Linked DNA regions of Homo sapiens: all the other regions are linked to region 1. The links are contacts of gene promoters, found by promoter capture Hi-C in human tissues and cell types (Jung and others, 2019). All regions are on one chromosome and are shown on one strand. Each heading gives the region's core, a stretch centred on a gene start or on the middle of the fragment in contact. The rest is flanking DNA. Distances are from core to core; before and after follow the strand shown. Region 1 holds the start of MAFB (MAF bZIP transcription factor B). Region 2 overlaps DHX35 (DEAH-box helicase 35). Region 3 has its middle 89 kb from the start of DHX35. Region 4 has its middle 100 kb from the start of LINC01734. Region 5 overlaps LOC107985448 (a long non-coding RNA gene). Region 6 has its middle 350 kb from the start of LINC01734.

Region 1 (5,222 bases), core at 1,296-3,795:
GGGTATCAATTTGACCATAAGACAAGGCTGTAGTCCAGAACACTCCTCTGGGGTGCGGAGCTTGGCAGCTTCCCTGCCCTGCCCTGCCCTTGTACTGGGACCTCTCGGTTCTCTCTCTCAGCACCAACAAGGTTGAAAACTAAAGCGAGAGAGGAAAAAGAGGACCGAATGGGGATAAGGGAAGGAAAGAAAACATGCAACTTCCAAGTGTGCCCCAAGACAAAGTTGTTTTCTGATGCAAAATGCCCGGAACTTTTTCTTTTTTTTTTTCTTTTTAACTTACAAACAAAAATACCGTAATAATAAACCCAAACAAAGACCCTCAGCTTGCTGCCACGTTCTCTATGCGGTTTGGCGGGGCGGGTATTTACAAGCCTACAGCTGGGACTGAAACCCCGCACGCAGCCGCCGGAGTTTCCAAACTGCGATCCCTTCTCACCCAAAGAAACAAGGGGAGTATGATCCATGATCAACAACATGCTAAAGTTAAACAAGAAAATGGTACAAAATAGAAATTATTACCATACATGTCCAGCATGCAGGATTAATATTTTTAATGCAGATTTTTTGTATTTTTCTATATAATCGAGCAGGCAATAAAACTGATGAGATTTGGGCGCCGAGCGTCCTAACTGAGGCCTGTGTCTCAGGGCTGAGAGCCAGTGTTCTCCGAACTCTGACAGACAGGTCCGTCTGTCCTTCCTTCTTTCGCTCAGCCTCGCCTCTCGCCTGCCGGGACGCCAGAGTCCCTCTCCTTTCCTCGTTGCTCTCTTCCTGGCGCGGACTACTCTCCGGGCAGCAAAGCAGCTGTCCCGGCTTAACGCGCAAAGTTCAGAAAGCCAGGAGTCTCCAGATGGCCTTGGTGACTTCTCGGGACTATGCCTCGCCGCCCTTCAGCCTGGAGAGAAGTTACTCCGGGACCTCCCACCCTCTCGTCTCTCTCTCCGGCTCTGCTCGAGTCTAGGAGGCGGCGCTGGCGTGCGCTACTCTCGCCTTAGCCAAGGTCCCCTGCCCGCCCGCGCACCCGCCCGTCGCCCGCGGCCCGCGCGCCCTTCCTCCCTCTCGCTCAAGTCAAACAGGTCAAGGCTGGGGCCGCGGCAGGGACAGGGTCCGGGGTAGTCTGGGACTAGGGACGTGGGACAGGGAGTCCGGGCCGGGGCAAGGGCGGGGGCCAGGACCGGCCACGACTCACAGAAAGAACTCGGGAGAGGAGGGGCTGTCGCTGGTGGAGCCCGCCTCCCTGAAGCCGGAGTTGGCGAGTTTCTCGCACTTGACCTTGTAGGCGTCTCTCTCGCGGGCCAGCCGGGACACCTCCTGCTTAAGCTGCTCCACCTGCTGAATGAGCTGCGTCTTCTCATTCTCCAGGTGGTGCTTCTGCTGGACGCGTTTATACCTGCAAGACTGGGCGTAGCCCCGGTTCTTCAGGGTCCGCCGCTTCTGCTTCAGGCGGATCACCTCGTCCTTGGTGAAGCCCCGCAGGTGGCGGTTCAGCTCGCGCACGGACATGGACACGAGCTGGTCGTCGGAGAAGCGGTCCTCCACGCTGCCGTTGCCGCCCGCCGCCGTCGCCGAGGCCGTCGCGTGCGGCCCGGGCCCGGGGTGGCTAGTGGGCAGCTGTTGCGCCGGGCTAGCGGCGCTGGACGGCGGCGGCGACGCTTGGTGATGATGGTGATGGTGCGGGTGAGCGTGCGGGCCCAGCTCGTCGTGGGCCACGCCGGCGCCCGGGTACGCGTGGTGCGGGTGAGGGTGGTGGTGATGGTGGTGGTGGTGAGCGCCGCGAAAGCTGTCGAAGCTTTGCAGCGGCTGTGGCACTGGGTGCGAGCCGATGAGCGCTTCCACCGCGTCCTCGGGCGTCAGGTTGAGCGCCTCGGGGTTCATCTGCTGGTAGTTGCTCGCCATCCAGTACAGATCCTCGAGGTGTGTCTTCTGTTCGGTCGGGCTGAAGCTGGGCGACGAGGGCACGGAGCTACACGGAGTGCTGAGCGGTGTGGAGGACACCGAGCCGGCTGGCTGCAGGCGTGTGCAGGGCCTGCCCGGACGCTCCGCGCGCCCCAGTGGCTCCTTCTTCACGTCGAACTTGAGCAGGTCGAAGTCGTTGACATACTCCATGGCCAGCGGGCTGGTGGGCAGCTCTGGCCCCATGCTCAGCTCCGCGGCCATCGCTGAAGCGAGGCGCAGCCGCCGCTGCCGCCCGGGAAACTTTGCGGCCGGCCGGAGCGCGCCGAGCCAAGCGCGGGGGGGAAGAGCGGAGAAGAGCTGGGGAGGCGGGGAGCGAGGGCGCAGCGGGCCGGGGCCGCCGGCCAAGCCTTTGTCTGGGGACGCGGCGGCGCGCCGGAGAGTCCCGAGGCTGCCTGCACCGCCCCAGAGCTCTGGGCTGTGCCCGCGCAGGGACCGGGCCGGGTAGAGTCGGGCGGGGTGGAGAGGCAAGCGGAGCGCGCGGTGGGGCTGAGGGGAGGCGTGGGGCGAGTGCCCGTTGCTCGCTCTCTAGCTCTCTTGCTCTTACGCTCTCTCGCTCGCAGCCGCTCGCAGCTCGGCGGTGCAGCTGTGCTGGATCCGGCGGCGCCGCAGCCTTTTATCGCCTCCTGATGTCACTGGGGTGCGGGGGCCCGGGCGGCCCGGTGCGCGGGCCAATAGCTGCACGGCCTCCGCGGCCCAGCGGCGCAGGGCGGGGCGCGCCTGACAGCTCCCCCGCCCCCCGCGTCAGCTGACTGGCGGCCCGAGCGGCCCCGGAGCGGCGGAGGCCTGGCGGAGCGCTGGAGCGGAGTGGGACGGCCAGCCTGGGCCCACCCCCGTACCCTGCAGGTCCCGGCCCACGCACGCTCGCCTGGAGTGCGCGCCCCACCTCTAGGCCAAATCACCGCTTTCCCCTCCTCGCGCACTCTCCTCCCTCAGTTCCCTTTGCACCCCACCCCCATCCCGTGTCACCCCCAAGGAGGCTCAGAATGAGCGCCGGGACAACGCCTCCTGGGCCCTTTGTTCCCAAGCGGCCCCCGCCCAGTGGGCGACGCTCTGTGTGTCCTCGCGGCTTCTGGCCGTGTGTGTCGTGCGTTCCTGTTTCTGGAGATCTGCGCGTATTTGTATGTTGGGGAGGGCGGGCTCGAGGCTCCGAGAGTTGTGTTCAGACCCAACTCTTAACCTCAGGGGACCTTTCTCAGGCCAAGCGAGGGCCCCTCCTGGCGGGTGCAGTCGCAGAGCCCTGAGGTTCGACTCCACTGGCCCCGCCGCTCCCCGCGTTCACCCCACCGCACAATGTTCACAGTGAAGGCGACGGGAAAAGCAGCAGCCCAAAGGCTCTGAATTCCTCTTCCCCGCCACACGCACGGAATCCTGAGCCCCCGGAGCCTCGGGGCCGAGGCCGGCCCGGGACGGTGCTCCGAGTAGCTCTCCACTGCTGGGGAGCCGGCCCTGTTTTTGTTTGAACGTTTTGTAACGATTAAGCAGATCCCGGCGTCAGCCCGCCGCGGAGAGGCTCAAACAGGCATAAAGTGCGACCCCAAGTGGCCACTGTGCGCAAAGGCGCCGCGACCGCCCGGCCCACGGCCGGAAGGCTTGGACGGCGCCTCGTACCCAGCCAGGTCTCCCCTACCTGGCCCAACCCAAGCCAGCCCAGAACGCATACTATGTGTGCACCAGAGCCCAGGACAGGTTCCCCTCGAGCGATGTACAGGTCCTCGGGTCCCGTCTTCGTACTCAGCCGCGAGCCTCGAGCCGCGAGCTCCGCTCTGGTCGCCCCGTTGAAATTCCGTGCCCCAGCGTTCGGGGGTGCCCGTCGGCTGCTCCCTGGGCCGGAAGGTCCTGGGCGGAGGAAGGCCGGTAGCCAAAAGTGGAAGCGCCACAGTGAAGCGGCCCAGGGCCACCGGGTGAGAAACCTCCCCGGAGGGCAGACGGGGAGACCGAAGCACACCGCACTAGGCATCCAGACTGGGCTTGGGAGCCGCGCACCCTCCCTACCCAGATCCAGGATGGCTAGAATTAACGGGTTCTTTCTGAGACCTCGGCTCAGGCGCCGAAACCGGATAGATCGCGAATTCGCTGGACCCGGAGACCCGACCCGCCTCCCGCGTCACCTTCTTCTTTCTAGCTTTGGGCGCGCGCAGCGAAAGGCAGGAGAGGCGCGCACTGGGTGAGTGAGTCCCGGCCGCTGTCTGCGCTGGACCAGCCCGACTGACCTCGCGCGTAGGGGTCGCGTGAGCCACACCGGTGCAGACGCGCCTAGATTATTTTTAAATGTTAGAAGGTAAAATATTTGCCTCCAATTAATCTGAAAACTCTCTATTCTCTTGCGCCCTCGGAGAGGCTGGGGTACGGCGTGGTATTGGGCCGCCTATTTTTAATAAAATGAGTGTATTTTAACTAAAACTTAACTCAATCTTGTGGGGTGGCAAATTAAATGCTGGAAGAGCGCGTCTACAACCCTCTTCGAGAAGCGTGCTCTCCGCAGAAATGAGTCGGCCGCCTGGAGAGAGAGCCTGGGCGGTGCCGCTGCGCAGCCCCTGCCAGTAGCTGGGGGTTGGGGACTCGCACCTTGTAAATGTCCTCGTCTTGTTTGAACGCAGTGAGAGCACACTCGTTTCCAGATCACTCGGGACCGGGTGTCTCGGATCTGTGCAGACTATGTATGGCTCCGGCCTCAGGCGGCCAGGGCGGGACAAGCACGCCTGACTCTCTTGGTCCCGACTGGACTAGAGCTGGTAGCACCCTCCCTCAGGGTCCTAAGAGACCTGTGGCTCCCAGAGTGTTTCTGCCACTGTGGACTTCTGCGCGGGCACCAAGATGGACAGGCCAAGCTGTGACCCACTCCACCCCCGCCCATACGTCCCCTCGGCTCTGCCTGACACTGGCCGTCGAAGACTTCCGTGGCCCATTAAGGCCCTGGGGATTCCTGAGGCCCCAGGTCTGCGGTTCCGAACCTCCTCTTCTCCTGCGGGCGGCCTGCCTCCGACTCAGGGTCTCTTGGACTCGGGCTTTGGGCAACCGCGCTCTTCTTTGTCCCTGTGCCTCTGTCTCTGTTGTGGTCACTCCCTTCGCCTGGGCTTTGACTGTGGTATCTCTGTCCATCCCCAGGCTCACTTCCCCACCCAAATCCGTTTCTCTGCCCCTCTCCCAGCTTAGCCACTCCCTCCTCTGCACACCCCACAACCTACCCCACCAAAAAAAAATGTTGGAAACAGCCCTACCCCTGCCAGGCTGTGGGTGAATGACGGAGACATGCAGGTGGCCGA
Region 2 (5,222 bases), core at 978-3,477, 1.7 Mb before region 1:
GCTGGGTGACTGTCTAGGTTAGTGATTCTCTAATTTTGCTTTATAGTTGAATCACTTGGGAAGCTCTGAAAAGTCCTGATGTGCACTTGCACCTCACACCAATAAATTAGAACTTTGGAGGCCTAGGAGCCAGGCATCAGTGTTTTTTAAAGTCTCTAAGGAATTCCAGCATGCATCAAAATTTGGGAACCACTGGTCTAGGTAAATTGTGTTGTCATTAGTTGACATGGGAATAGCTTTAGTACACAGTTATTGGGCCGTTGCTTTGTGTTAGTCACTTTCATTTACACATCTTATTAAACAGTCACAGTATCTCTGTGATGACAGTAATACTCTTATTTTAGTGAGGAAATTCAAGATATGAAGTAGGTTGTGGGAAATGCAAGGTGAAAGTCAGGGAAGCTGATATAAGGCTAGACATTCAAATCATGAACATATCCTGTAGGCCTGAGCCTGTGATTACAGAGGTCTTTCAGACAGTCTAAGTGAGTGAAGTTGCTTACTGGAGGTAATAGGGAGTGGTGGGGACTGTGGCAGAGTGTGCATACACTGGATAGTATGTACAGTGGAGATCTACAGTAGAGCTTACATATGCTTTCTAAAATAGGGAGTTGTACTCAGGTCCACCTAATTGTTATCATATGGGTTCAGAGTTGCCCAATTTTTTTTTTAAGAAGCCTAATATCCAGATCTGAATGGGAAAATTTTATGTGTTGTTTTAAATGAATGATTTAAAACATTTTAACAATAGCATGTCTGGGTACCTTAAGATACCCATTTGTGGTGTCTACCTTAGGAGTGTGACTTAAGGGCCTTGTATGACCTGCCTGAGAGTTTTCTACAAAAATCTTTTACTTAATTTGCAAGTACACGTGGATCCGAAGGGCCTGCCCATTTTCGTTTGCTCATTTGATAAATATTTCATGATTGTTGACCATGTGCATGACGAAAACTTTACAATAGGTTTTAAGCTTTTTTTGACTTGACCCACAGTAAGATATAGCACACATACACAACTGAAGAAAAAGTTGTTCATAAACAGTATTGCTTTCTGGAATGTGCTCTGATGCTTTCTATTCTATTTCATTATTTAAAAAGTGCTGGTATGACATACTACATTGATTTCATAACCCACTAATGGGTCACCAGTAAAATTTTTAAAAACCAAGTTAAAGGGAATGAGGAATTAGGGATATCAGCCTTGTTAAGATAGGGAAATGAAGATGTTCATAGTTTGCAAAAGTTATAAAGTTGTTACTCCCTTAAGCATAGAGCGTACGCTCAAGGAAAAATCAATCATAGGCAGCCACAGAGGGGTGTTTATAGAGGGAAAGCAGCCCTGATGTTCTGGTTTGGTTGAAGGAAGTCTTTTATGAGGAGAAGGTATACTGTTTATCAACTGACATAGCTGTTCTTATAAAAGAGCTCAGCTGGGCGTGGTGGCTCATGCCTATAATCCTAGCACTTCGGGAGGTCGAGGTGGGTGGATCACCAGAGGTCAGAAGTTCGACACCAGCCTGGCTAACATGGTGTGACCCTGTCTCTACTAAAAATACAAAATGAGCTGGGTGCGGTGGTGCGTGCCTGTAATCCCAGCTACTCGGGATGCCCAGGCAGGAGAGTCGCTTGAACCTGGAAGGCGGAGGTTGCAGTGAGCTGGCATCTCGCCACTGCACTCCAGCCTGAGCAACAGAGACTCCATCTCCAAAAACAAAAGCTGATAATAGAAGAGATAGATTGGGGCTGTAGGTTAGAGACAAGGGAGGAATACGGTAGTACAAAAGACATGTTAAAATATTCCAGAGAGGATATGAAGGTTTAAAACATGATTTGAAAAGGCAGGAATTCAGGACAAAAACACAGCAGAAAAGGATAAGGTATTCTTTGTCATTGTTTTCTTGAGTAACAATTACAAGGAATTATTAAGATGTAGTGACAAGAAGGGAAGGAAAGAAAGCCTGTCTCTTTGAGGACAGGCATTGTTCCAGGTCCTGTTCCATCTTTTGTCTTGTTGAAAGGAAGGTCAACATTTTGGCAAAAGCAACATGACAGTGCCCCACTTACCTGATTTTTGGCCATCTTGAACCTCTGAAACACAACTCTGTTCCTGGAAGTAAATGGAAAAGGGTCAGAGATCTAAAGCAGTGATTCTAAACTTAGCTCTAGGGGGTCTACGGACCCCCCCGAATTTTATATTCTGGTAAATTCTGGTGTGTTTTTTAGGAGAGGGAGTTCATAGCCTTTATCAGATTGTTGAAGCAATCTGAGAACCCTAAAAAGTGTAAAAGTAAGTCACTGAGCTGAATATTCTTGTTACAAAGCTCCTGTGCTTTCACTTAGCATCACAGATTCTGAGTTCAGAAGACCTAGGAGATGATGGTTATTGGTTATTATCACTGTAGTGCCCCAGCAGGAGGCTGTATAGCATGTGTTTGATCTAGGGAGGATTTTTATTCATTTACAAGGCAGCAAACTCCAGTGCTGAAAAGTGTGACCTTTTGGAAATATCTTCCTTACATTGAGTTGAATTCTGAACCCTGTGTCATTTACTTATTACTCCTAGTTCTGTCCTAGAGTTACAGCAGCAAATCAGCATGAAAAGTTATGGAAGCTGCTCACAAAATTTAAAGTTATGTTTCTCCTGAGTTGTTTTTCTGTTTGAGCTAAAACTGTATGGAACCTTCAACAGGTTTTCATGATGGGATATGGCTTCCCTATTCTTCACCATCATGATCACCAGTTTGTCATTGTTATTAGCAAGAAGCCGGGGTGAAGATCTCTTGTTTAATCTGCCCAGCATGGCGGTTACTGAGAATAGCATTTCCCATCTATCCACTCCCGATTCCATGGTTCCAATGGGGACTGTCATTTACCTCATCCCATTCCACTGGCCATGGTTGATTGTATTGGGGTGGGGATTGGACCTAAGCTGGGAGAAGTCAGTCCCTGTCTGTCCAGTATAAAAGAGCCTCCCCCACCCCCCATTACAACACATACCTGGGACTCCCAGTCCCCCTTACGTTGTCTTTATTTCTCTCCATAGCACTTATGACCACTTCATGCACCAAGTTACTTTCCACTGAGAGGAAGAATTAAAAAAGCAAGTGAGCTCCGTGAGGGTAGGGCTGGCATCTGTATTGTTCACTGCAGTGTTTCTAGTGCTTAGAGTGGTACGTGACATGGAGTGGGCCCTTGGTCCATCCTTGCTGGTCCTTGCTGGACCACGATGAATGATTGGTAGAGGAGTTGTAAGCGTGAACCCTGGCACTGCCGGCAGCCGTCTTTCCAGCTCCTGTACAGTAGCCAACCTAAGGGGCTGGAAGGAACCTGCAAGACGTGCCAAGATGAGAGAAGGAGAAAGCCATGGCTGCTTTGAGTGCCCAGTTTCTGTCATCTCTGAGCCTTATTGCCATCCTACAGTAACAAGATTCATCCTTTTACCTCAGCTAATTCCCACTGGGTTTCTTTCACTTCTGTTAAGAATTCAGTAATAACATGGACATGGAGGCCAGAAGTAAAGACACTGTGCTCTGTAATACACAGTTCTGAGTGGCCAATTTGGAGCCCAGTGGGACTGCCATCTCGTTTCTTTTTTCTTTTTTTTTGGAGACAGAGTCTTGCTCTGTCGCCCAGGCTGGAGTGCAGGGGCCCGATCTTGGCTCACTGCAACCCCTGCCTCCTGGATTCAAGCAATTCTCCTGCCTCAGCCTCCCGAGTAGCTGGGACTACAGACACACACCGCCATGCACGCCTGGCTAATTTTTTGTATTTTAGTACAGGTGGGGTTTCACCTTGTTGCCCAGACTGGTCTCTAACCCCTGAGCTCAGGCAATCCGCCCGCCTCGGCCTCCCAAAGTGCTGGGATTACAGGCGTGAGCCACTGCACCTAACCCTGTCTTGTTTGTTTTTGACACTGCAGTGAAGCTTTTAGGGAAGATTTTTAGTTCCTCGTAGGCACTTTTCTGGATTCTTTCCTAAAGTTAAGGTTGAATACCTTTGAGTAGTTTGAGATAAAAAGTATTGCTTCTTCTGTATATCTTCATCTTTGAAAGTTTATAAACTTAACACCTTTTTCTGTTCATTGTATCAGAGAATCTGAAAAAAAAACATTTCTGCTGCAGGTACAGAGGGGCCAGGTGTAAGCATCTCTGAAGAGAGACAAAGTCTGGCTGAAAACTCTGGGACAACGGTTGTTTACAACCCTTATGCTGCCCTTTCCATAGAGCAGCAGAGGCAGAAGCTGCCGGTATTCAAGGTACGTCAAATAATCATGTTCAACCTGTGGGCTTGAATCGTGTGTCTGCATTAGCTTTATGCTCAGCACTGAAGGGAATGATGGCCTCTTTCTAGAACACAGTGAGCTCAGAGAAACCCTTACTGTAAGGGATGACTTTTCATACTGTGTATTTTTTAGTTAACCTTATAAATCTTGAAAGTCCTTAAGATTTTTTCAGTTGCATCGTACATACTGGAAAACTGGAGGAATTAGAATGACTTTTGTTTTCCCCTTTATTCCTTTCAGCTGTGGACAATTTCAGATATACAGAAAAGTAGAGAAAATAGCAGTTAATTTCTATATAACAGATTACCAACATATGGCCAATTTTTGCTTTATTTTTAAAGTCACTCCTTTAAACAAGTTTAATTGGGAATATGAGGTTGTTTCTGCTGAAGACATCAGTTAATACTCTGACTTCCTCTGAGACAGTGACAGGATTTTGGTATGGTTACTACTTACCAAGTGCACATCCAGACACTCAGTTTTATTAGCGCTCACGAAACAGATGTGTGCTCAGCTACAAGAGACCAAAGTGCAAACTAGAATTCATTCAGAACTGTTCATTTATGGCTAGCAATAATTCTCCAGTACAGATGGACACAGTTGACATATACACTTTGTCCCTGTTGGCACATCCACATGGGAAGCCAAATTGTAATCAGGAAGTACAGAGCCAAGACAGGTTACAGAAATGTCATACAGCCCCTGATGAGGGGTGAATTCTCCCTGCTCCACAGGATGCCCTTGGAATGACCCGAGTAGGTGTGGCCACCAGCATCTGTGTCTCTTTCTTTCTCCTGGACGGTGCTGGGTGAAAGTTGCTGTGTTCTATCTATCTGTCTGTCTGTCTGTCTGTCTGTCTATCTATCAGACAGGGTCTTCCTATATTGTTCAGGCTGGTCACGAACCCCTGAGCTCAAGCAGTTCTCCTGCCTCGGCCTCC
Region 3 (5,222 bases), core at 1,342-3,841, 1.6 Mb before region 1:
GTGGACTGTGTTTCTGGTCCCTTGCTTCTGACAACCTGATAGAGCAGATATGGAAGGGCAGAGGCACTATAAGAACTCTTCTCCCAGTTCCTTGATTCCCCCCCATTATTCCTTGTGTGTCCCCCACTTCCCCTCCCTTCCCTGTGTCTGGATTTAAGAAATGACAGTTGAGGCAAATCATGTTGCTTTTTCGGCCATCTCCTGCAGTGTCCCCTTTCCATGGCCTCATCCTGTCATGGCCCTGAGCTGTTGCAACTGGTTCAGGGAGGTCTCTCTTGGCCATCTTTCATCCAGTGGGGATGGAGAGACCAGTGCCATTTCTGGAGGGAGCACCTGAGTTTGGAGGTGAAACATAGGTGATACCTTATCCAGGTGACACCTTCCCTAGGCCACAAAACCATAGTTTCTAGATGGAGCTGGGCATGGTGGCTCATGCCTATAATCCTAGCACTTTGGAAGGCTGAGGCTAGAGGATGGCTTGAGGCCAGGAGTTTGAGACCAGCCTGGGCAACATAGGCCCTGTCTATACAAAAAAATAACAATTTAAAAAATTAGCCGAGTGTGGTATGTGTGCCTCCAGCCCTAGCTACTCATGAGGTTGAGGCGGAAAAGTCACTTGAGCCCAGGAGTTTGAGGCTGCAGTGAGCTGTGATCAGTTGTACCACTGCATGTCAGCCTGGTCAACACAGCGAGACCTTGTCTAAAAAAAAAAAAAATAAAAATAGATGGACTGGTGCCGTGCCTTTTTTTTTCCCCCCACAGATTCTTTGACATGCCTCCCATGCAGAGGTGGGGTCTATGTCCCTCTCATGAATCTGGCCAAGTTGGTAGTGGTTTTGACCCAGGGTTGTGTGAAGTGATGTGGTGTGACTTCTGAGGCTGGGTCACGAAAGGCCATGCAGCTCCTGCCTGGCTTGCTGGGACACTGCCACCCGAGCAAGCCAGCTACCTGATAACCAGGATGCTGGAGAGGCTACTCATGGGCTGTGGTTCATGATGCCATCTGAGAAGTGGGTCCTCTGGCCCAGCTCTTCCAGGGCCCAGCCTTCTGGGTCACTGTCAGCTGAGGCCCAGACATGCAGGAGTACAGACAAGCTGTCCCTCCTGTGCCCTGTCCCAATTCCTGACCTGGCTTCTGGAGCTTGGTTTGGAGATGGAGCCCACCTTGACAATGCTGTTTCCCTGGGAGAATGGGCCCCCTCTTGGCTGGCTTGCAGGAGCTCTGGGAGTCTCCTTCCCCTGTGACTCCTAGGGGCTTGGTGGCTCTGAGCTGGGCAGCTCCACATTCTCTCAATTTCATTCTGTCTGATCCATGTTAGTTTTATTTACTTTTTATGTATTTTTTATTTTTCTGACATAGAATCTCGATCTGTTGCCCAGGCTGGAGTGCAGTGGGGATCATGGCTCACTGTAACCTTCAACTCCTGGGCCCAAGGGATCGTCCAGCCTCTGCCTCCCAGAATCCATGTTCGTTTTAATATGAAAGCAACGTTTTATGCGACAACCAGGAGCTCTGAAGGGTTTTCACGTGGATGAGCCACACGCCGGGATTTGGAATTGCGGGAAGTGCCCAGCGAGTAGGGTAGGAGGAATGTTGGGGGTGGGACTGGACTAGAAGGGAGGCTGGGACGTCGTCGAGAACGAGATTGCAGGGACGCTGCGGTGGGAGAAGTCGAATTCCCACCCTGTTCGTCCTCCGCAAAGAGTGACTGAGGCTCAAAAAGCCACAGCCTTGCCCAAAACGGATGCAGCGGGCGCAGGCACGGTCCACACCCCGAAGCTTGCCGATGCCCTCGGCGGCAGCCCGTCCTGCAGAGCCGCGTTCCCTGCGCCCAAAGCAAGGTCGGACCCCCACCGGGATTCCCGGAACCGGGTGTCCCGCGCGTCCCCAGCGCAGGCAGAGACGGCGAGACTTCCGGGTCGGCGTTGCACACGGCGGCCGGCAGGCGGCGCTGGAGCCCCGCGTTTGGGCAGCCAGGACGCCCTTGCGCTGCTTCGGGTCCTGCGAGCGCCCAGGGAGGGGGTGAGTGCGGGGAGGGGTCAGACCCGTGTCTTGCCCGGTGCGAGCTCACCGCCTGCCCACCGGGCACGTCCACAGCAGCTCAGTCCCGGTCTGAGCGCATCGGAGTGAAAACAGCCCCCGCACCTCTCGTGACGGTGTCCCCTTCTCTGTCCACGTTGCAAGAAGCTATACTGTACTCACCAAGTCTTTAAATCTTGACCACTTCACCAAGGAAGGTATGAACCTCTCCATTTTACAGGCCCAGTTCAAAAAGCAACGACAAAAATCAACACCAGCAAACCTTTATGGAGTTCTAATTATTGACCTGGCCTGCCAGGGTCCTTCAGAGTGGAGTTGGGGTGGGTGCGGGAGAGGGGTCAAAAGCCAGCCCTCAGGAGGGGGCCACCCGCGCAGCCCTCTCTCCACCATCAGGGCTCTTGCAGACCCAAGGGCCTGCCAGGAGAAGCAGATGGGCCATGGTAAATCTGAGGGGCCATTGGGATGCCCAGACTGTCCCAGGTCACCCCATTTCTGCATTTTTGTTCATTTTGTTCAGGTGGCCCTGAATGTTGTGCCCTCCTCTTGGGAACTGTAAGTAATACAATCTTCCTTTCAGGCAGTTGACTCTGTGTCTGTCATCTTCCCATACCTGATTACAACAAAATCATCCCATGTACATTTTTAAACAACTGTCTAAGATTGTCGCAGGGCTCAAATGACTTAACTTTAAGTGCTTACAATGATGCCTGACACATGGTAAGGCTAATCGAGGAGTAGCTATTGTTACATCTCTTTCTCCAGCCTCTTCCTTCTTTGCACCAACTGCCTCCCTCTGAGCAATTTTGAGGGAGGTTTATCTCGAGGTGCAGCCAATCCCAGCTGCTAGGGCCAAGATCAGCCACGTGCTCCTTTCCCTTGGCCATGGCTTTGGACACTCCAAGCTGGCAGTGAGTGCCAGGTGAGGGGGCTGCTAGGAGCCGGCAGGGGGGATCTCACCTTTGTGCCACTTATGTCCCTAATCAGGGGCAACCTCCCCAAATCTGCACCCCCAAATCCCCTCCCCAGCTTGACTGGAGAAATCACTCTAACTCCCAATGATAGCAACTCCAAATCATAGCAATAATAATTTACTGAGTGCTTACAGTGAGCCAGACACAGTGCTAGCATCTTGTACCAGCAGTTCTCAAACTTTTTGGCTTCAGGAACCCTTTACACCCTAAGAATGATCAAGGCCCTCAAAGCTCTTGTTCATGTGGGTTGTATCTATCACTAATTACCATTTTAGGAGTCAAAACAAATTTTAATAATATTTATTTATAATTTATTTAAAATAGCAATAATAAACACTACATGTGAGCATAAATAATATATTCCTATGACAAATAACTATATTTCACAACACACAAAATTTAAAGAGAAGGAAGTGTGGCTTTGTTTTATATTTTTGCAGATCTCTATAATGTCAGCCTTAATAGAAGACAGTTTGATTTTTATATCTGCATCTGCAAGTTTTTGAGATACCACATGTCATGTAGCCCCTGTAATATTCCACTGGGAGTTTTAAAAAGCTTTCACTGAGAGCAAAAAACCCCCACAAATAACATGTTTGTATTATTGTCAACATTATTCTGAATTTTATGGACCATCTGAAAGGGTCTCAGAGACCCCAGAGGTGCCCATAATACACTGTGGAAACTGCTGCCTGATATACATGATGGGTAGCTTCCAATATTGCCCCATTTTTACATATGAGGAAACTGAGGCACAAGGAGATTAAAGTGACTTGTCCAAGGTCATGCAGCCAGGCATCAAAGCTAGCTGGGGAGTCACTTGATTTTGGTGTCCAGGGTCCCAGCACTGAGCCCTGAAAGAGAGGGTAGGAACTGGGCACAGAAAAAGCCGGAAGGGCAGGTTGGGCCATGAGTGGGGGAGCTGGGTGTGCAGTGAGGGGTGGGGGTGGGAGGGGACCGGGGGATCAGTTAGTCACCAAGTGGTCCTGGTGACAGGGCTGGAGATGGCAGCTGGCGGCGGATGTAGCCTCGGGCTGGAAAATCAATAGGTGATCAGCGGTCCAGGGGCAAGCTGTTCATCAGGTGCGGCAGAGGGGCAGGGGCAGGGGCGGGGGGGCTGGGAGGAAATATCACTGACCCCCGGCAGGATTGATCAAACAGCCAGACACCCAAGGCCAAACTCACTAATAAAGTGAGACATTCAGCTCAGCCCGGCGGCTGCTGCTGAAGGTCTTAAAAAAACCGCTTACTGGGGAGTTCTTGATAAACTGTCTTTGTTTCTTGAGGCAAGTGGGAGGGAGGACAGACTGTGGGGAGGCCTGGCTCGGCTGCCGTTTGGCCTGGGACTCATGGTTTGCCCCAGGTCTGGACCACAGAACCCTGGTGCTTGTATGGCATGTGTGCTTGCACTACAGCACATGCCATTTGTACAGGGCATGTGCAGACACATATGTGCACACTATGTCGCACACATTCAAATGTGCCTGCACATGTCTTTGCACGCCCGTGCACATGCTACAACCTACATTTGCTTATGGTATGTGTGCACACATATGCATGTGCTACAGCACATGTGTACAAATATGCCTTGCATGTGTGCATAGACATGCGTGCACCGCATCACATGGCATTTACACATGCATATGCTATGGCACATATGTGGGCACAAATGTGCCTTGCATGTGTGCGTATACGTGCATGTGCCGTAGCACACAGAATCTGCCTTTGAGGGGTGAGCATGTGTGCTTGGGGGTTAAACTCTTTCTCCATTGTTTCACTGATATCACCACTTTCTCTGCCTGTAGTCCCAAAGGTGCCACATTTGTAATGACAGTCATGATTATTATGGGGTGGGGAGATGGACGGAAAAGTAGGGACTGGAAAACTGTATCTAAAAGGCTAAGCTGTACAACAGAGAGAGGCAGGTGTGAACAGGAAGAAAGAGGGGGAGGAAAAGTGAAGGGCCGGCATGGTAAGGGCTAAACATCGTTTGGACTGGGAGTTGAGGGAGAGAAAATGGCAGGATTCGGGGGTGGCTGGGTAGCTGTTGGGGGAGCAAATTAAAGAATAAAGGATATGCAAATATAATTTTTATTTTTATTGATTTATTTTTTTTAAGACAGAGTCTCATTCTGTTCCCCAGGCTGGAGTGCAGTGGCGTGATCTCAGCTCACTGCAACCTCCACCTCCTGGGTTCAAGCAGTTTTCCT
Region 4 (5,222 bases), core at 801-3,300, 1.6 Mb before region 1:
TTTGCAAACAACCTTTTTAACACTGTTCCTTTGTTCATTAAGTATCAAGTACCTTCTCTGTGCTAGGTACTATGTAAGGGATGGTTGAATAGGAAACATTTTCTGCTTTGCAAAGCTCTTCCTCTTAGTGCAAAGTTGGGTAAACTATTTCCTGTGGGCCAAATATGACCCACCATCTGTTTTTGTAAATAAAGTTTTATTGGAATGCAGCCATGCTCATTTGTTTACATATTGTCTATAGCTATTTTAACACTATGATGGCAGCACTGAGTAGTTGTGACAGAGACTCTATGGCCCGTACTGCCTAAACTATTTACTATTGGCTTGTTGTAGAAAAAGTTTGCCAGTCTGTTGTCTAGTGGAAAAGAGAAACATAAACAGATGAACAGATAAATAGGCAATGACAATGTAGCGTGACAATACTGTGACAGAAGTAAGTGCTTGGCTTTGGTGGGAAGTAGGATCAGGGAAGGCTTCCTGGAGTAGGCAATGTCTATACCAAGACCTAAATAGTGAGTTCAGAAATTTTGGCAAAGGTGTGGGGAGAGATTGCCAACAGAGGAAAGCATGAACAGAGGCCAGAGGTAAGAGAGAACATGGGGTTTTGGGTGGTGGGAGCTGAGAGAAGAGGCTGGGAAGAGTGCTGGTAGCATGTTGGGCATCTCGTCGCCATTCAGGAAGGTGGCATCCATCAGCGGTGGGCTGTGCTTGGCACTGTGCTATTGATATGAATGTGTTCTCAATTCCTTCTAGGACTGGATTTTAATATTTCTACTTTACAGATGTGAAATGAACATGGCAATAAAGGAGCTGGAATTTCTGGAGGCAGGGATTTTCTGGATGGACGATTCACGTGTGTTTGCCACATCCTATGAGTGCTGGGATGGGTTGTGGTTAGAATGGTGGGGGTGTAGCCTGGCCTTGCCTCATTAACTTGTGGTCCCTGTGCTATGCATTTCAAGACTTGTTCCAGTCCCAGAGTGTCCTGTGCCCACACTCAGCCTCCTACTGGGGCCCCCACCTAAGACAGGGCTCCTTGAGTTGTGGGTTGAGCTCCATGTCTGGTTCTTCCTCCTTTTCCCATCAAACCTGTGCCTTTTGCTCTCAGGCTCCAACAGGACCTGCAAATCCACACTTGGGGCAAAGCTCCATGACTCAGGGCAGCTACCCTTTAATGCTTAGTGTGAGGCGCAAGCATCATCCTGCCCCTTCTTGTGCTCAGAGCAGACTTGCTAAGGGATCACCAAACCTTCCCATTGAATCCAGACACAGCCTCAGAATCCTGCTCAACACAGCCCTCCACTGATCACCCAGCATACTTGCCATCCTTTCCTTAACCCAGAGGGAAAGCTTGAGCTCACGCAGTACTTTCTGCACAAACCTAGTCACTGCTCGCAGGTAGCCAGCCTTTTTGTCAACTCTGATTTTGACCCGGGACTCAACACAATTCAACAAATGTTCACCGAGAATCCACTAAGTGTCAAGGAGCAGAGATGAATAAACATGGTCTCAATGCCCTAAGGAGCTCACATTCTGATGAGAGACGTTATTGACTTGAGCAACCACTGAAGTGGCAGCCTTTCTCTGCTTTTTCTCAGGGTTGTGCTGACCGCACGCCCTGCAGAACTGGACTCAGGCTTCCCCATCTGAGATGTGGCTATGCCTGGGTGGGGCTGCGTGGCTAGGACTTCTGCATCTCAGACCAGAGGGCAGAAGATGCAGATGAGGAGGGGGAGAGGACCCCACTGGAATGGCAGCAGCTCAAAGTAAAGGATGAGGTCAGGTTTGCACCAGGTTAGGATCAATGAACAGTGAGCCTGGCCTGAGCAGTGGGTACAGCACTAGGGTTTCTGGAATCTTCAGATAAGCTGGTACACTTTGGGACTCTGGCCACCCATTCTCTCCAGGCCCAGTGGGGGAAAGAGCTGACAAGCACAAAGCTACAGTATCAGGACCTCAGCCTCCAAAGCAGAAACAGAGCAAGAAGGAAACTGAGGCAGGGGAGTAGCCAGCCCGACTCCACAGCAGGATTGGGCACACATGCATCAGGAGTCGTGCAGATCACCAGGCTTAGGAAGACAGCAGCTCTAGGAGGCTTGAGGGCTGATTTTTCTGATCTACTGCACCCTGACCAGCACTGGTTTAGGGACGCTGGAGAGTGGGTTCTCCCCATGTTAGGACTCAGTGTGAGAGCTGCTTATGACTTTGCCAGGTTTTTTCTTTAGCCGCTGAGACATCTCTCCACCCCAGGATCTGGCAATCACATCAATCCCAAAAGGGGCACCTAAAGCCTTCAACTATTTGCCTTTCTATGGAGATTTCCAGAATCTACTCAGTTGATGCCATAAATAGGTAGAGAAGGGAGTGTGTGTGTGTCTGTCTCAGTCTATGAACACACACACACACACACACACACACACACACACACACGGAGTCAGACCTCCTTCATCAGAATCAGTTTGCAAACTTCATTTCCTTAGGATGAAGAGAAAAGAAAATTATTATTAACATATCAATGGCACCTCCATGCTGAGAACAAGATTACCCTCAGTACACACAAGCGCCCAGGGAAGCTCAGACACTGTATTTTAAATGTGCTCTGTTTCTGCATCTCCGTCTCCCCCACCCCACCCCCATTCCCTTCCTATTTTTTTTTTTTGTTCCTCTAAGCTTGTTTCTCTTGAAATTTCCACCTTGTGGTTGTGTACTGCTGACTTCACATTTGCTGTGGTGTGAACTCCACATCTGTGAATGGATGACAGGAAAGATTAATAGCCCTGCTCTCTTCTCCTTGACTGTGGGCCCAGCTAATGAATAAATAAATAAATAAATAAGCAGAGCTCCAATCCCCTAAATAGAGACCCAGAGCCAGGGAGAAAACAGCATTTCGCTGAATCCATTCTTTAAGGAAAAACCCAACCTCTAATGATCTCTGATTTACATAGTCGGCAGTTTTTCACTAAACATTTTACAAAGACACAAAAGTGTGGGGTGGAGGGATCGCTCCATGTTCTTTCCAGATGGAGGCAGGGGTCCCCCTGAGAAGCCCACAGGCCAAACAGGGCTGGTGCAGAGTGTGGGCTAGCTATGGAGGTGAGCCGGTTTCCCACTCAGGCCGCCTTAGGCCTGGGATCATTGAGTCGAGCGATGATGAAGAGGGAGGCAAAGGGACCCCTCAGGGGTCCCGGTAGTTGGTCCCCACACTTACCAGGTGGGAGGAAGGTGTGGGCTCACCAGGCAGCTCAGAAAGCCTACGAGTGTAAGGGGAGGGAGGCAGGGAGATAATTCATTTCCTCCTGCTTCCTTCATGCCTCCAGTTCTGGTGAAAGAGAAGCTCAGATATGCGCAGACAGAGCTTCTCAAACTTGAATGTGCCCTAATGACCTGGAGATCTGGTTGGAATGCAGATTCTGATCAGTGGGTATAGGGTGGGGCTGAGACTGGCCAATTCCATTAAGCCTGCAGGCGCTGCTGCTGCTGCTCCAGGGGTCACACTTAGAGTAGCAAGATGTTGCAGAGGCAGCAGAAAGTCAGGTTCTGCCCCCTCCTCTGTGGCCCTTGTCTGAGGCTTCACAACAGTCATCCCTTTCCTGCCAGCCCCAGAACTTGGCTGTTACCTGGTTTTCCAACCTCAGCTGACTCCATGGGTCTAATATCCCAAGGTACCTCAGCCAAATGCAGCATACACATCCTCTCTGGACCAGGCTTGGAGAATTTGGCTTTCCCTTGGCTGTGTTTGTAAAGTATGGTTGTTCCTACCTGGTCTCTGCATCTTTAATAAAGTCCATCATTGGATATGAAGATGCTGTGCCTGGGTGACCTGGTTGAGGGGCAGGTGGGCTCAGTGGCAGCAAAGACATCTGTAGGCTCTGATTGGGCTGAGCAAGAGCTAGGGGTCAAAGGCAGTGGATGCTGGAGGGGCAGCGAGGGGCTTCCCTGCACAGCCAGGAGTTTGAGGGGCCTGAAGGCACACACACCAGCCATCGATCTTAACCTGCTCACTTCTAGTACCCATCAGCTCACTTCACTCCTTTTGATGATGAAGCAGAGATGAGACTAGTCCAGCAGAAACCAGGACAGGAAGCCCCACAATGCCAGCCATGCCCCTCCATTATGATCCCCCTGGCTCAGCGTTCAGGTGGACAGTCTCAGGTGTGGTCACATGGGGATGAAGGGAGCAGACAAGTTAGGGAGCCAAGCTGACCCAAGCCCTGACATTCTGTTCTTCCTCATGATTAGCCCGGTTGTCAAACTCATCCTGGCCCTCAAATTCCAGCCGTGAGTCAGCCTATGAAAGCCCCAAGGCAAGTTTATGATTCACCTGAGTGTAGCTCATCTTCTCTCTGGATAATCCTCAGATGACCCCCACCCAGCCAGGGGGAGCTGCCTTTATCATCCCATGGGCAGGATTAGCCCTGCACATCCAACCACCATTTATTTGTCGAACCTGTATTTGTTCACCTGTGAAACGGGTGAAACGGGGACCCCAATACCTTCTTCACGGAGTGGGGAAGGTAGAGGAGCCAACCCTCAAAAGCACCCAGGTCAGGGTCTCAGTCCACTGTAAACATCCCCCAACCCTGGTAGCAATCATGCCTTTGCATTGCCTTCTCTTTCCGGCTGTCTTCTAGCTCATCACTTCCAGGTGTGCTTCATGAAACAAATCTCATGAGATATTCACACAGAAAAATCTGTAACAAAAAATTGGGAAAATTGCATAATATTCCTTTCTTGAAGAGTTAGTCTAACTTTACTTGATTCTGCTTGACTCAAACTTGTTTGGCCATAGAACCTTTTTCTTGGGCATAACATTTATTAATAACTGGGGTGTCAGGAGATGGGAGCCAGCTGACATGCTTCTTCTCCAAAGCCTTAACCCAGAAGGTATGCCTAGTGGCATCTGGGTAGATCTGGCCAGCTGGGGAGGCTGGGTTTTGTGGATGCAGGTTTTCCCCACTCTAGTCCTAAGCTGTAGGCATCTTTCTCCCATGCCTATCTCTTGAGTATTCTGACACGCTAACTCCCTGGGGCTTTAGCTCCCAGCACCTGGGCAGATTAGGCTGTTCCCTTGCGGAGAAAGGTGAGAATTTAAACTTGGAGCCACCCAGACAAGCTTAACCAGAGCCCCTTGCTTTGTACAACTCAGGGGTTAATGCAGTGTCACAGCCCAACCCAGGTCATGCCTACTGAGACTGATGTTTGTGGCCTGCCCATAGCCCCTT
Region 5 (5,222 bases), core at 982-3,481, 1.5 Mb before region 1:
ATTGGGTGGGATTAGGGAGAAAGCAGGAATGACTCCTAGTTTTCAGTTTGAGCATGCGGATGGATTGTGGTGCCATTTACAGGAAGAACATGCTTATCCAGATTCACCTGGTAGTGAGTGATGAGTTATCAACCTTCTAAATCACCACAGGTATGACCACTTTCCCCCCATCACCAGAGTCCTAACAAGAAGGCTGTATGCCCCGTGCTGGGTGAGCTCCTGTCATTCCCAGGCTTTGCACAGGTGGTGGGCTTTCAGAAAGCAAACATCCCTGCTTTCCAGAAGCTTAGTGTAAGATTTTCTATATATAAGACTGTGTCATCTGCAAACAGGTATAATTTTACTTCTTCCTTTCAGAAAAAGCTTTTGACTAAATTCAAGTTTGGATGCCTTTATTTTTCTTGCCTCATTGCTCTGGCTAGGACTTCTGATGCTATGTTGAATAGAAGTGGTGAGAGTGGGTATCCTTGTCTTTTTCCTGATCTTAGAGGAAGAGTTTTTAGTTTTTCAACATTGTGCAATGTTAGCTGTGGGTTTGTCTTATAGGGCCTTTATTATGTTGGCGCAAATTCCTTTTATACCTACTTTGTTGAAAATTTTAAGGGTATGAATTTTGAATTTAGTCAAAAGCTTTTTCTGCCTTTATTGAGGTGATCATGTCATATTAGTTCTTTATTAATGTGGTATATCACATTAATTGATTTTCTTATATTGAACCATCCCTGGGATAAATCCCATTTGGTTATGGTGTATGAACTTAATGTATTGTTGCATTTGGTTTCCTTGTGTTTTGTTGAGAATTTTTGCATCTACATTCATCAGGGATATTGGCCTATAATTTTCTTTTTGGTAGTGTTCTCATCTGGTTTTGGTATCAGGGTAATGATGGCCTTGTAAAATGAGTTTGGAAGTGTTCCTTCCTCTTCAGTTTTTTTGAAGAGTTTGAGAAGGATTCGTGTTAGTTCTCCTTTAAATATTTGGTTGAATTAACCAGTGAAGCCATCTGGTCCTGGGTTTTCTCTATTGGGAGATTTTTTGATTACTGATTCAATGTCCTCATTTGTTATTGGTCTCTTAGGTTTTCTATTTTTTAATGATTCAGGCTTGGTAGGTTATATGTTTCTAGAAATTTATGAATTCTAGGTTATTCCATTTATTAGCATGTAATTGTTCATAGTAGTCTTTTACAGTCCTTTTTATGTCTGTGGCATCAGTTTTAATGGCTCCTCTTTTACTTCTGATTTTGAGTCTTTTCTCTTTTTTCTTAGTGTAGATAAAGGTTTTTCAATTTTTATCTTTTCAAGAACTGAACTCTTAGTTTTGTTGACTTTATTGTTTTTTGATTCTCTATTTAAAAAAATTTTGCTCTAACAATAAAGGCCATATACAACTGATGTGGTTTGTCTGTGTCCCCACCCAAATCTCATCTTGAATTGTAGTTAACATAATTCCTACATATTGTGGGAGGGACCCAGTGGGAGGTAATTGAATCACTGGGGTGGTTACCCCCATGCTGCTATTCTCATGATAGTGAGTGAGTTCTTATGACATCTGATGATTTTATAAGGGGCTTCTTCCTCTTTGCTGGGCACGTCTCTTTCTTGCCATCATGTGAAGAAGGATGTGTTTGTTTCCCTTTCTGCCATGATTGTAAGTTTCCTGAGGCCTCCCCAGCCATGTGGAGCTGTGAGTCAGTTAAATCTCTCTCCTTTATGCATTACCCAGTCTCAGCAGTTCTTTGTAGCAGCATGAGAACAGACTAATACAACAACAAACCCACAGTTAACATCACATAATGCTGAAAAACTGAAAGCTTTTTCTCTAAGATTAGAACAAGACAAAGATACCCACCTTTACTACTTCTGTTCAAGACAGTGCTGGAAATCTTAGCTAGAGCAATTAGGCAAGAAATAAAAAATAAAAGGCATTCAAATCACAAAGGGAGAAATAAAATTATCTCTGTTTATAGATGACATGATCTTATATGTAGAAAACCCTAAAAATTCCACAAAAAACCTGTTAGAAGTAATAAACAAATTCAATAAAGTTTTAGGGTGAAAAATCAACATAAAAAATCAATTACATTTCTGTACTCTCACAAGGAACTATCTGAAAAGGAAATTAAGAAAATAATCCCATTTACAATAGTATCAGCAAGAAAAAAATACTAAGTAATAGACTTAACCAAGGAGGTAAAAGACTTGTACACTGATAACTATAAAACATCAGTGAAAGAAATAAAACAAGACACAAATAAATGAAAAGACATCCCATATTCATACATTGAAAGACTTATTAAAAATGTTCATACTGCCCAAGGTGGTCTGTGGATTCAATGCTATCCTCATCAAAATCCCAAGGGCATTCCTTTTTTTTTTTTCTTGTTTTTTTGTTTTTTTTGTTTTTCTTTTTAAACAGCAGTAGAAAAAACAACTCTGCCTCTTTGGTGCAGGTTTCTGCAATGTACAGTTGATGAGTCCTTCCTCTGTAGAAAGGCAGTGTGGTGTAGCAGGCAGAACACAATGATTTTGGAGTCAGCAAGATCATCACTTTTATGCCTTGGCCACACTCAACAGTAGTGTTGGGCGAGGTTTATCACCTCTCTGACCCTCAGTCTCATTTGGGTTAATGCCAAATGAGTCAATAAATTATATAGGATAGTTTCCAACATATAACAGGCTCTCAATAAATATAGGTTGTAAATTACTACAGAAACTCGGAAGCTACATCTCAAAGCCATACACATTAGGGAGGGCTTTATCTTTACCCCAGCAAATCTTGGGCATGCACGTCTTCCAGACCAGGGATCTACACATGGGTGAGCAAGGCAGCTTTAACCACTCTGCAGCTAAAGGGACCTTTTGGAGCACTGTTTTGGGGTTGCATGTGGCAGGGAGGACATTAACATTGGACATGGTTCAGTGAGAACTTGGGCTGGTCAAATATTATGATCATTATTATGGTACAAGGGCTACATGGAATGGCCAGATGATTTTGTCCTTGGAAACCATGGGACTTGGGCAGAGAGGATGCTTCTTTCAGGCTCCAGCCATGACAGTTGTCCCAAATCATAACAGAAGGAAGGATTTAGGCCCCATGAATTGGATTAAACTTTTACAATATCCTATAACCTTTGCTATCGTCGCCACGACTGATGTCACCATAACAACAACGATAACCACCCCCTCCCCAATATAAGTTTCATAATGATTTGTTCATTGCAAAATCACCAATGCCTACAGGAGTTCCTGGCATAGTTGTAAATATTACTGTTTATAATAACCATTACCACTGTTAAAGTTAGTAGCAGCTAACATTTAAAAAATGCATGTGTTCATCATCTCATTTAATTTTCACAACAATCTTATGATTTAGGCTGGGGTTCACAATCTACAACCTGTAGACCAAATCCAGCCTGTGGCTTATTTTGTAAGGTCTGCAAGCTAACAATGCTTTTTCTCATTTTAAAACAGTTGTAAACAAAATGAAGAAGATTATGAAACAGAGCATCTGGCCCACAAAGCCTAGAATATGTATTATCTGGCTGTTTGCCAATCCCTGATATGGAGTATTTGCCAGAGTAGGCTAGTGATATAGTTTGAATATGTGTCCCCACCAAATCTAATGTTGAATGGTAATCCCCAACATTGGAGATGGGGCCTGGTGAGAGATGTTTGGATCATGGGTATGGATCCCTCATGAATAGTTTGGGTCATCCCTTTCGTGATAAATGAGCTCTTGCTCTGAGCTCATACGAGATCTGGTCGTTTAAAAGTGTGTGATACCTACACCCTTGCACCTCTTTCTCTTGCTTTGGCTTTTGCCATGTGATGTGGCTGCTGCTCCTTTGCTTTCTGCCATGATTATAAGCTTCCTCATGTCTCCCCAGAAGCTAACACCATGGTTCCTGTAAAGCCTGTAGAACTGTGAGCCAATTAAACCTCTTTTCTTTATAAATTGTCCAGTCTCAGGTATTTCTTTATAGCAATGCCAAAACAGCCAAACACATGTAGTGTATGCTGCCATAACAAACAATGAACTGAATGGCTTAGCCTAACAAAGGTTTATCTCTTGCTGACTCAATGTCAGCTGTGGGTCTGTGCAGCCCTCCAGCGCAGTCACCTTCCAGATGATCAGCCATCCAGGCTATTTTTATTCTGCAGCTCTGATATCTTAGCATGAGACCTCTTGGTTATTGTGGCAGGGGAAGAGAGAGGTTGGAGAGCCTTCTGGGAACTTTTTAGTGTGTCATTCAGATGTGACAGCTGTTACTTGCACACGTGTTTCATTAACCAGAACTTGTCACATGGCCCAGCCTAACTAACTATGAGGGGTTAAGAAATGTGAAGGAGCACCTGGAATGAGATGAGGAAGCTGAGTTTCTGAGAGGTAAATCCTTTGCTCAAGCTTACACAACAAGGAAAAGGCAGAACAAAGACACGTATCAGGCAAGTACAATTTCCAAAGTCCGTGATCTTATCTATTACATTCTCCTTTTCTTATGAGCTCCTTGTTCCAGCAACAAACCGCATTAAACATTTCGTTACTTTGGAGTGGCTCAGACAGAATGTTCCTATGGTTGCTGACACATCTCCCAGAGAAGTCTTCCCAGCTCTACACCCCCACTCCCAGCCTCTGTCCTCCTGGCTCTGGCCCCAAAGGGGCTGGAAGGTGCCACAGCCAGAGTAACTCATGACTCCTTTGGCTCCTCACAGTGATGAATGACAGCCATCCATCGTGGGCCTTGCTGATGGCCCAGCTCATCCATCATGGCCTGGTGTTCTCAGGTGATGTATGAGTGCCTGAAGAATGGATTGCTTAACGGCCGATTTGCTTGGAAAAGAAACTGAGCCAAAGAGTGGATTCAATCTAATTACCTGCTCACTCTGGCCAGGCCTGAGAGGCACTTTGGCAGCCCCTCATAGGTCCCCGCAGAAATATGACTTGCAGTTCTTGAGCTACGAGGTCATTCCTAACTCATTGCTGATGGACAGGGCATTATTTAAAAAAAAAGAAATGTGGGGAGGAGCTGTTGGCAGGTTTGCTGCTTGATGGAAAGCTAGGCAGGCCAGGTGAATCTTCTGGAGGTGAATCAAGGGCAAACCAAACAATATTTGGGGTGATAATTGAGATGAATCAGAGGTGTTGGGTCAATGGACAAGTCAGTAGTCAAGACTGTGAGCTCTAAAGCTCAAAAGGCTACAAGACTGTAGCCTTGGTTT
Region 6 (5,222 bases), core at 1,068-3,567, 1.1 Mb before region 1:
GCCTGGGGATTGGGGAACCCTGGTCTATAGTAATGCAAAACATATTGCTTCCATGTTTCTGAGGACTGACCATCAGGTATTTACAGGCAGTCAACTTGCCTACTACATTTTATTTGTAATCACACCTGGATGCCATTTACACATACTTAGTTTAGTTTAAGCATGTGCAGATATGTTACCTCTTCCTCCTTGAAAGGCTTCCTGGTTACCCTATGTGGCTGTTTGTTCACCATCTTTGTATGGGACTTTGAAGCTGAGGACTTGGACAGTTCCTAGTGTGCAAGTGGTCAGAAGCCCTCTCCCTCCAAACCCAGTGACAATGTCCCTTTAGTAGGATTAAGGTGCCCTGAGGACCTTTGCTTTTTAAATTAGGCTGACACGGAGCTTAGCAACTATAAGTTCCCCCTTATCCTCCCTCTATTTATCATTAATATGTTGAACTTCTCAGCTGGCGAAGGATAAAATAGTTGATAGCAAATGAATTAGATATCAATTAATTTCTAAAGCAAACCTAATGGGCATTTAAGAAGAGAATTTAATGTCTCATTTACTCTCTATAGCTATCTTGTTAAATGCCAATTAAGTATCTAAATATTTCCTACAAGCTTAATGAATTATAATAAGTAAAAAGTGATTACCACTTTTTTCTAGGATCTTGGCACTCTCGACTTCCAGTGCAATGATACTAGACTTTTTTTCTCATCCTATTTAGGATACAGATAAAATAGACTAAAACCTTCCTAATTAACATTAGCTACCTTATTTAGCAATAAAGTACTAAATTTATAGTCAATTCTGAATATAAAAAATATCAGAATGCATGCAGCTAGAGAATATATGAGTAATAGGATTTTTACTTGAAAATAAAGTGAGCACTACTAAAGCATTACCTATAATGAACGCCTAATGTTTCACCTTCTCAATGCCTGCCTCACCTCACCCCCTCACTGAAACCATTTCTAGACACCAAGGCAGAGAGCATATTAGCAGACTCACACATGAATTAATGGGGTGTGTGTTTGTGATTGGCATGGTACACAAAAACCTAAAGGCAGCAGGGGCCAGGACAGTGGACTCCATCATACAAAATGGGGAAGGTTAAGGAGGCTTGGCCTGGGATCTAGCCCTTCAAGGTTTTCTCTGCCACTCTGGGAGAATAGAGTGATCCTTAGGTTTGCTTATCCAGGCTTTGATATCTAACAGTGCACTGTGGGATTGGAGAGATTAGCAGTCAATATTCAGGTGGCAGGCTTAATGAACTACTGTTTCACTCTAAGGAGGGCTCTGGTCCTCAGTGGGAGATGCAGACGGCAAAGAAGCAGCCCCTGAAAGTGAGGGTTTGGGTGGGACTGCAGTGGAAAGAGGTGGAGAATACCTGCCAGACAGGAGTAACACAGTGCTCCTGAGCAGTCAGCTCTGGTAACGTAACTCAGTTACATCATGAGTTATGTATGGATGTCATTCAGTTCAGACCATGGAGTGGAGGTCAAGGGTATGAAATTTGGGATCAAATAGACCTGAGCTTGAGGCCCAACATGGCTCATACTTGTCCTATGAGCTTGTTTATTTTGAAGATTAAAAGAGAGAATTTGCTTAAAGCATGCAATACAATGCTTACCAAATAGCACACATTCAGTAAGTGCACTTATTATTAGAGTGAATAATAATGGTAATAAAAATATTAAGGATGATGAAGTCACTTTGTTTCTGAGAGTGTATCTGATTTGTAGACTATCCGTTTGATAGCTCTTCCTTCCTTAGGAAAGTTAGTTAAGTCATGATTCAGTTCCTTCCTAATGAAAGTTAGTTCAGTACAACCTGAAGCATGTAAAATTTCCACGCAGAGTGTTGGTGTGCCTGTTCCAATGATGTCGCCACTGCATGCAACATTCATATAATGACCTCAAGTGACAAAAAAAATCCATTATTTTTTTCTTCCAGAGAATGAAGGGAACACTAGGTCATTGTTACATGGCAACAGCTACTTCTCAAACACCTTGTTCAGGAAATACCTTGTTCCAAATACATGCTGCAAGGCTGAGAAGGACTCTTGCAACTGGGCACAGGGGTACAAACACCACCTCATTTCCCAAGGACAGCTCCGCTCTTCAATGAGGCCATTCATCCTGGCCCTACACAATTACTGTCGCTTACACAAACAGTTATGGAGCATTCAAATGACAAATGCTAGGCAGCCATCCAAGTCACATTTCTGAAAAATATTTTTATTACAGGAAAATGCTCATGATGTAGCATTAAAAAGGGGGAGGAAAGCAGGAAACCAATCAAAAGCAGCAGAGAAAATAACTAGTATAGATCCCTGAGTTAAACTCAGCCTCCTTTCTCTCACCTCCAGGCTGGCCTCAGGAAAATACCAGACAGAAATCAAAAGGAGACAAAGATCTAACTAACTTCATATGCATCAACAGGCAATACTGGTCTTTACTGTGATGGTTCCTTTTGGATACCAAGGCGGGAGTTTTGCTAATCATGGGAAAAGTTCCTAAAATTCCCTTCTCAATAGCCTTCTCCTAAAGTCCAAACCCTCCAGTAGCTGGCCAAATTTTTGCTCTCCTCTCTCTCTTTTTGCCTCCAAAATATTCTCATTCCTGAGTTTTTTTGTTCATGCTACTATCCATTCTCTGTCTAACCTCCTCCATCTTCCTCACCTCTATTTTTTTCTTCTTTTGGTTATCTCTATGTGTAAGTCAGGACATGAGAAAATGAACATTTGAGCCACAAAGCCTGGGTTTGAAGCCTGCCTCTGAAATTGCCTAGCTGGATAATCTTGGGTGAATTTCTTAATCTCTCTGTGCCTCAGTTCCAACCTGTATAATGGGGATGATAACACTAACACACAGTCTCTTGGGGTGCTTTTCATGATTAAGTAAGTGAGTTTATATGAATTACCTAGAACATTGTTTGGCTTAAGAACTGAATAAATGTTCAGCACTATCATCATCATCATCATCATGTGGATTAATTGACCTTCCCTCCAGCTTCTTCAAGCTTTTTCTCCACCCATTATAATGGCTTTTCTCCCAAAAAAAAGGGGAGGAAGGATTTGCAAATAATTCTTACTTAACATATATTTAAACCCTGTCATATTATTCAAAAAAATGCCTGCATGGAAATGAATCTGTGTTAAGCAGAATAATGGTCCCCCAAAGATGTCCATGTCTTATATCAGGAAGCTTTGAATATGTTACCTTACATGGCAAAAGAGTCTTGGCATAGATGGTGAATTTAAGGATCTACAGTTGGGGAGGTTATCCTGTGGCCCAGTGTAATCACAGGGGTCCTTATAAGTGAAAGAGGGAAGTAGGAGATTCAGACAAGGAAACAGAGATCTAGTGCTGTCATTGCTGAAAGGGGCCACAAGCCAAGGGATGTGGGCAGCCTCTAGAAGTTGGAAAAGGCCAAGAACAGGTCTTCCCCTGGAGCCTCCAGAAGGAATGCAACCCTGCTAACACCTTGACTTTAGCCACATAAGACCCATTTTTAGACTTCTTACCTCTAGAAATATAAGATAAATTGCTGTATGGTAATTTGTTACAGCAGTAATAAGAAATCAGTAAAGTGTCAAAACTATAGCTAAAAATATTATGTATACAAAGATAGATTTCTGAGAAGTTTTCCTTTTCTTTTTATTTGAACTGTCTCTGTCTTCTAAAATAAGAAGGCAAATGCTAGGCTAAGAAATGATAAATTACAGATGCCTGACACATGCCAGGACTGTTGTTATGCTGCTATAGAAAGAACCCAAGCATGTGGATTTGGAGTTACTACAAATGCATGGTCATTACCCATCACTGAGCTTAACCATGGTTCCTGGCTGTTACACCAACTCCACCATCCACTTAAGCAGATGGATGGTGGAGACTTCTCCATCTGCTTAAGTTCTTTTTACCGATGCATTGCAAACTTTACTGTGTATATAAAGAATGTGGGGATCTTGTTAAAATGCAGATTCTCTCAATATCATTAGACATCGGGAAAATGCAAACTGAAATCTCAAACAGGTACCACCATATACCACTGGAATAACTAAGATGAAAATGACTAGCAAGTCACCAATAACACCAAGTATTATTGAGAATGTGGTTCAACTTGACCTCATGTATATTACTAGTGGGAATATAGAATGTATTTGGAAAACTGTTTGGCAGTTTCTTAAATAGTTAAACATATATATAGCATGAGATCCAGCCATCCCACTCCCAGATGTGTACCCAAAAGAAATGAAATATGTCCTCACAAAAACCCAATTATGAATATTCAGGCTGGGCGCGGTGGCTCATGCCTGTAATCCTAGCACTTTGGGTGGCCAAAGAGGGCGCATTATTTGAGGTCAGGGGTTCGAGACCAGCCTGACCAACATAGTGAAACCCCGTCTCTACTAAAAATACAAAAATTAGCCAGGCATGGTGGTGGGCACCTGTAGTCCCAGCTACTCTGGAGGCTGAGGCAGGAGAATCACTGGAATCCAGGAGGCGGAAGTTACAGTGAGCTGAGATTGCACAACTGCTCTCCAGCCTGGGCAACAGAGCAAGACTTCATCTCAAAAAATAAAAAAGAAAAAAGAATATCTGCAGCAGCTTTATTCATAGTAGTTAAAATCTAGAAACAATGCAAACAGCTATAAACTGGTGAATGCAGAAACAGAAGGTAGCACTCACACACAGTGAACCATTACTCAGCAACGGAAAGGAGCTACTGACATACCCAACAACACGGGTGAATCTCAGAAGCATTATTCTGAGTCAAAGAAGCCAGACCCAAAGACAGCATACTATATGATTCCATTTATAGAAAATGTAAGCTAATCTCTAGTGACACAAAACAAATTAGTCATTTCCTGGGGCTGGGGCAGAGGGAAGGAGTGAATGTGAAGAGGAGCGAGGGATCTTTGGGAGCGATTGAGCTTTTCCGTGTTTTGATGGCCATGGTGGTTTAATGGGTATAGATGACTATCAAACTTCATCAGATTTTACACTTTAAATGGATGTGGTTTATTATATATAGATTATTCCTCAGTTAAGTAGATAAAGAAAAAATAAAGCAGATTCTGATTTATAGCTCTGGGCTGGGCAGGCAAGTTAACATTTCTAGCAATTCCTCAGTTGCTGCCGATGTACTGGGTCCCAAAGGCTCCAGAATATCTTCTCTTCACCTTTTGCACTTGCAGGAGACACATTTGTGTCCAATTTTGCTAAGAAAAT

What was found. Contacts are between HindIII fragments. The study calls those that stand out against the background at their distance.
Region 2: a fragment that was not itself captured here is called in contact with the fragment with the promoter of MAFB in region 1 in 1 of the 25 tissues and cell types used here (dorsolateral prefrontal cortex).
Region 3: a fragment that was not itself captured here is called in contact with the fragment with the promoter of MAFB in region 1 in 1 of the 25 tissues and cell types used here (dorsolateral prefrontal cortex).
Region 4: a contact is called between a fragment that was not itself captured here and the fragment with the promoter of MAFB in region 1, in 1 of the 25 tissues and cell types used here (dorsolateral prefrontal cortex).
Region 5: a contact is called between a fragment that was not itself captured here and the fragment with the promoter of MAFB in region 1, in 1 of the 25 tissues and cell types used here (dorsolateral prefrontal cortex).
Region 6: a fragment that was not itself captured here is called in contact with the fragment with the promoter of MAFB in region 1 in 1 of the 25 tissues and cell types used here (heart left ventricle).

Annotation. Positions count from the first base shown.
Region 1 is chr20:40,686,691-40,691,912 of GRCh38, forward strand. It overlaps MAFB (MAF bZIP transcription factor B), which reads right to left and starts at 2,546. Exons shown (of 1, transcript NM_005461.5): 1 at 1-2,546. The coding sequence starts at 2,160. The coding sequence ends at 1,189. RefSeq lists silencers at 2,409-2,478, 2,499-2,808 and enhancers at 2,759-3,736, 3,737-4,712. The HindIII fragment of the contact is 9,965 bases long and covers 1-5,222 here.
Region 2 is chr20:38,964,960-38,970,181 of GRCh38, forward strand. DHX35 (DEAH-box helicase 35) reads left to right here. Exons shown (of 22, transcript NM_021931.4): 2 at 4,122-4,255. Among named protein-coding and RNA genes, the nearest start is that of DHX35, 5.2 kb to the left of the region's middle. The HindIII fragment of the contact is 5,080 bases long and covers 1-4,767 here.
Region 3 is chr20:39,048,302-39,053,523 of GRCh38, forward strand. No RefSeq gene overlaps it. Among named protein-coding and RNA genes, the nearest start is that of DHX35, 89 kb to the left of the region's middle. The HindIII fragment of the contact is 5,314 bases long and covers 1-5,222 here.
Region 4 is chr20:39,119,944-39,125,165 of GRCh38, forward strand. No RefSeq gene overlaps it. Among named protein-coding and RNA genes, the nearest start is that of LINC01734, 100 kb to the right of the region's middle. The HindIII fragment of the contact is 3,681 bases long and covers 211-3,891 here.
Region 5 is chr20:39,160,648-39,165,869 of GRCh38, forward strand. The region is part of intron 2 of LOC107985448 (a long non-coding RNA gene); the gene reads left to right. Among named protein-coding and RNA genes, the nearest start is that of LINC01734, 61 kb to the right of the region's middle. The HindIII fragment of the contact is 3,814 bases long and covers 325-4,138 here.
Region 6 is chr20:39,572,140-39,577,361 of GRCh38, forward strand. No RefSeq gene overlaps it. Among named protein-coding and RNA genes, the nearest start is that of LINC01734, 350 kb to the left of the region's middle. The HindIII fragment of the contact is 4,339 bases long and covers 149-4,487 here.